Linked DNA regions of Homo sapiens: region 2 is linked to region 1. Evidence: promoter capture Hi-C in 16 types of primary human blood cells and fetal thymus (Javierre and others, 2016). All regions are on one chromosome and are shown on one strand. The core of a region is centred on a gene start or on the middle of the fragment in contact, and the rest is flanking DNA. Distances in the headings are between cores, read along the strand shown. Region 1 holds the start of FBXL17 (F-box and leucine rich repeat protein 17). Region 2 overlaps PJA2 (praja ring finger ubiquitin ligase 2).

Region 1 (2,700 bases), core at 16-2,515:
AGGGGGCGGTGCCCCCGGCTCGGACAGCGTCCCCGCCAGCTTCGGTGGGGGCACCTTCGGAGGTGGGAGAAGAGGGCGGAGGGCAGAGCGGCTGCGGGGGCTGCTCCGGGGCCTGGCAGCAGCCGGCGTCGGGGGGCCGGGGCGGCGAAGCGCCTCCCCCCGCAGGCCCTCCCCCGCCACCGCCGCCGCCGCCGCCGCCGCAGCCCCCGCCGCCGCAGCGGGGCTGCTTGCAGGGGGTGCAGGCGGGGACCCCGGCCCCCTTCCGCTTGCACACCATTTCGGGGGGCGTAGGGAGCTCGGCCGGTGACGGTGTCGGCCCCCGGAAGAGCTGCACGGCGGCGGGCGGCCCCAGGAAGCGCACCGGCCCCAAGCTGGCCAGGAAGAGACTTCGGCCCTGCTGCTCCCAGGCGGCGGCCGCAGCCAGCCCCAACTCTTTGCAGCAGGAGGCGGGCGACGAAGCCGAGGCGGCAGCGGCGGCGGCGGCGGCGGCCGAGGATAGCAGGAAGCGGCGGGCAGCAGCGGCGCAGTCCTCGGCGGCCAGGGCCGCGTAGCGCCGCGCCAGGTGCTGAGAGGAGGAGGCGGCAGCGTAGGCCCCGTCCCGCGGCGGCGGCGAGAGCGGCGGCTCCTCCTCTGGGCCGGCGGGGGCGGGCGCGCCGGGACTGTGCACGATGAAGCAGAGCATGCAGGGCCCGCGGAAGAAGCAGTCCCGGCTCCGGGGCGCCGCCGGCTGAGGGGGCACCTTGGCTGGGGTCCGGCGGGGCAGCCTGAGGAGAGGGCGCCGGCGGCGGCACCAACTGCAACAGCGAGGCCTCTTCTGGCTCGGGCGGTTACGCGGCTCCTTCGAGAGAAGGTGGCCCATATAGAAGGCCCCGAGGAGGGGGACCGGGACGGGAGGGAGGGAGACCCAGAGAGGCGGGCTCCCGGCAGCGGGGCAGGCCGCTCGCTGGCTCGGCCCCCGGAGGGGTCGCCCTTCCTGCGCACACACACGCACACACGGGCACACACGCGACGGTGGGGGGTGGGCGTCAGCTGCGGGCCGCCGGAGTGCCCGACGGGGGCTACATGCTTTGCCCAGGGAAGCCGGGAGAACGATGGGCGCGAGCTTTGGGGACGCGAGGGAGGGAGCGAGCGAGCCTGCCGGCTAGGCGACCAGTCCGGGCCCGGCCAGCCGGCTCAGTCAGTCAGCGGAGCGGCCGGGGAAAGGCCGGGTCCCGCTCGGACCATTTTAACTGCGGATCCGCCGCCGGCGCGCGCACCCGCGACTCTGCTCGGAGCCGCAGGAGCGCGCGGCCCGTTCCGGCAGGGGGCGGAGCCAGTTGCGGTGGCGCGCTCGTGGCGGGGACGCCGGCACCCGGCTGCTCACCCGGGACGGCCGTCACACCGGCACTACGGGAAGAAGCCGGCCGGCTAGGGCACGGAGCTCTGGGCTTGCGGGGTGCGGCGCACGCCCCTCCCTCCCACCGCCTAAGGTTTTTCCGAAGCTGCTGGGCGTGCGCCGCGTTTCTGAGGCGGGAGGAGACACTTCCGAGCCAGCTGTGTGACATCCGTTTACACAGCCGCGCTGACGTCTCGAGGTGTAAGTTCAAGAGCTGCCATTGGCCGGGAGCCGCTGGGCTCTTCCCCTCACCTTCCACCCCTGTCACCACCCCTGACTCGGAAACCGAGGCCACTTCGAAGCCGCGAGGCGGGTTCCGCCGGAAGGGCCAGTGTGGGCGCTGACCGCGCTTCGGGCAGAGTGGCAGATGCGGCCCCTGGGTGATGCGCACCGAAGTCATGTGAGGGGTTGATTGGTTGTGCGGCACCACTGTTTACCCACTTGTGTTTTCTTAATTGTTGCGTACTACTGCCTTTCCACAACTTTATTTCAGAATGAAAGCATATATCAAATTACCTGTGCACAGCAGAAAGATAACAGCTTCCCCACCCAGTGAGCCATTCAACACCCAGGCTACAAACTGTAGATCACTTTATTGTCTACACCCTCGGAATCCTGTCTAGCCGTCTGTTGTATATTTTAAACATGACGGTGCAGTGCCTGCTATATGACAAACGTTGGTGATCCAGATGAGAAAGAGGAAACAGCTATGCAGGCAGTCCTTTAGAAGGTTTGACTATATCGAGGCTAAAGAGCTAGGGCAGCTGCTAGAGCGGTACCTGGTGCGGAGAGGTTAGCTTTCACAAGCGAAAAATTAGAGGAGGCAAATACCATGGGAATGAGCCACTCTAGTGAGAGAAATAAGAGGAGAAGGTGGAATGGAGAGTGCTTTAGGAAGGATACTTTCTTCATTGTGATTACAGAGAATGAGGAAAGGTAGATAAAGGACGGATACAGAGAGGTGGATGTTTCTAGCAGGAAGGTGAAAGAGTTCCTTTCTGTTGGTTTCTGTTTTGCTTCAGATAGAGCTTGGTTACCTGCTGAAGGGTGGAAGAGAAGTGGCAGGTGTTTAAAAAAAAATCTGCTAAGGATAACTTGAGAGAGCTGACTGAGGAAGAAGTATTGCAATATTCAAGGCCCAGTGGCTTGGAGAAGACCACTGTTGGAACCTACATTGCTATTCCCACTATAGTGGCCAGCCCCACCCAGCCTGCTCTCAAACATGCTGTCAAACAATTGTTAATTCTGGCCTTTTTGTCAGAAATGACCAATCTTAAGTCTGTCACATTCAGGGATCCTTTCAGAGCCTAATGACAGTTATGTGG
Region 2 (2,700 bases), core at 148-2,647, 980 kb after region 1:
CACCACTGCACTCCAGCCTGGGCAACAAAGCGAGACTGTGTCTCAAAAAACAAAAACAAAAAAGGACTCATCAACAAAATGTACTGGGACAACTGGGTATTCGCCCGCAGGGAGGGAGGTTAAATCCCTTAAATAAACTTTAGCTATACTTTTTTGAAGTACATGTGTATATGCACCCCCCACCTCACTTAAACAATGAGTACGAGAATAGTCATGAGGAAATTTTATAAAAATTTCAGTGTCGGCCGGGCGCGGTGGCTCACGCCTGTAATCCCAGCACTTTGGGAGGCCGAGGCGGGCGGATCACGAGGTCAGGAGATCGAGACCATCCCGGCTAAAACGGTGAAACCCCGTCTCTACTAAAAATACAAAAAATTAGCCGGGCGTAGTGGCGGGCGCCTGTAGTCCCAGCTACTTGGGAGGCTGAGGCAGGAGAATGGCGTGAACCCGGGAGGCGGAGCTTGCAGTGAGCCGAGATCCCGCCACTGCACTCCAGCCTGGGCGACAGAGCGAGACTCTGTCTCAAAAAAAAAAAAAAAAAAATTTCAGTGTCATTCTAAGCATGATATAAAACCCTGAAGTCACAAAATTTGGACACAAAACTCAAACTGAGAAACGTGAACTACAATACAAGAGAGACAAAGGGCTTTTCCTTAATCAATAGAAGCTTAAAATGTAAAAAAAAAACTGTAAGAAAAACATCAATATATATCAACAGAAAGGAGGCAAAGGATATAATAATTAGCAGAAAAGGAAATTCAAATAGCCCTTAAATATATAAAGAGATGCTCTGCCTCATTTATAATAAGCAAAATGCAAATTAAAACAACTGAAATATGTTTCAACTATTAGCAAAAATAAAAAATTCTGATAATACCCTGTGTGTTGGTGAAGCTCTGAAGAAAGCTTTGAAGAAAGGCAATTCATATAGTGTTGGTAAGAAAGTGACTAATTTAAGTTCTTTGTAGAGAAACCCGGCAAAAGCTATAGATTAGGTTTATGCACACTCACTGACCTAGTGGTTCGGCTTCCAGTTATTTCTCCTAAACATGTACAATGTGTTTTTTATTTTTTCTTCAGCATTACTCACAATAGCCAAAACTGTCCACCAAATGAAACTGGTATACTCATGTAGTAGTATACAGTAAGTTCTGACTTAACTTTATACGAGCTTCTTAGAATATGTGACTTTAAGCAAAACAAGGTAGAACTATGCAGACTTAAAATGAATAAAGGAAATCTATATGAATATGGAACAATCTAAAAAACAGATCTATAAACAAAACAAATAACGAAACCAAGGTGTACACATATGTCTACACAATGTGCTACCGGTTGCATAAAAAATGAAATGGAACGTGTACACATATATGCTTTTATGTGTACGGAAGATCTTTAGAAGTTCAAAAAGGAAGCTGGTTATAATGGTTTTTAATTGGTCTTTCCATACTGTCTAAACTCACTTTTTATTGTTGTATGAATCCTTTTTTTTTTAAAACAACTGTAATTTCATCTGTTTATCAAGAGAAGTTCAACCAGAAATAGCTACCCAAGCAATAAACTGTTAGCAATTCATTAAATATTTCCAAAGCACTCAAACTTGTGTCATTAAATCTGTATTCACTCTTACTGGTATTTCAGAAACCATCCCTTTAATTATGCAAAGTACAATAGTGAAAAGAATTTTTTTAGTTTCATGAGTCATGTGACCAATTATTAAGGAGTCACACAGTTGTTTGTATATTTAGCCTAAAGATAGCTAAAACTAACAGATGTTTAGCAGATGCTTAACAAATTTTAAAACCTTGAAGGTTTTCTCAATTTCAACCAAAGTACAGGTTATTTTCTCCCTTTGGTCAAAGCTCTATTGGTGTCTATCTAGACAACTCAAGCTTTTGAAAATGTACTAATTTATTCCCATTTTTTATTCTTCTTTCTGTTCCATCCCAGATATTAGAACTTTTTTTGGGCTAGATTTAATTAGGTTGTCATAATTATGCAATTGACATTTGGTGTACTACATCATTCTGAATGAAATACATCATTCTGAATGCAAAATATATTAATTGGAAAGAGACTTGTGATCTACACACATCATGGTAATACAAAAACTACCTTACTAAATAGTCTGAATCACTGTTAGAAAATAAAATCCAGGTTAGAGAAAATAAATATGTAATCATAGATTCATCAAAACAAGGCTGCTAGCTCTAAGAGCAAGTCTAAGGATGAAAAATGTGTGAGCAAAACCATAATTTGGCACTACAGTAATGTAAAAGACTAATTTTTGAAAAACTGGGCTTCTTAAATTACCAACATTCAATATCTCTGCTCTTGCTTTTTCTTTTGCTTAGAAAGTTCTTTCTGAACCCTAATTCTCATCTTTAAGAACTCAGCTCAAAAGTCAATTCTAAAGAGACGTCATCCCTGACCACTTTAATATCTTCATCATTTACCTTCTTTCACATCACTGTTTTATTCCCTTCACAGTAATCATCACATGTGTAATGTACTGGGTTTGTATCTTGGTTATCATCTGCCTTTCCTACTACAATGTAAGCTTCATGAAGGAATGTTATTTGTCTTTGTTTACTGATATAACGCCAATATCCAACACAATGCCTGGCACAAAGTAAATGCTCAATAAATATTTGCTGAGTGAATAACTGCTAACACAAATGACATATGAATAATTTATAC

Evidence for each region. The method cuts DNA at HindIII sites, captures the fragments that hold promoters and counts their contacts. A CHiCAGO score of 5 or more calls a contact.
Region 2: a contact is called between a fragment that was not itself captured here and the fragment with the promoter of FBXL17 in region 1, in 2 of 17 cell types (naive CD8 T cells and total B cells). The highest score is 6.3, in naive CD8 T cells.

Annotation. Positions count from the first base shown.
Region 1 is chr5:108,380,833-108,383,532 of GRCh38, forward strand. FBXL17 (F-box and leucine rich repeat protein 17) reads right to left here and starts at 1,266. Exons shown (of 9, transcript NM_001163315.3): 1 at 1-1,266. The coding sequence starts at 859. RefSeq lists silencers at 117-196, 217-966, 1,167-1,416 and an enhancer at 1,517-1,636. The HindIII fragment of the contact is 13,285 bases long and covers 1-2,700 here.
Region 2 is chr5:109,364,099-109,366,798 of GRCh38, forward strand. The region is part of intron 5 of PJA2 (praja ring finger ubiquitin ligase 2); the gene reads right to left. Among named protein-coding and RNA genes, the nearest start is that of PJA2, 45 kb to the right of the region's middle. The HindIII fragment of the contact is 986 bases long and covers 905-1,890 here.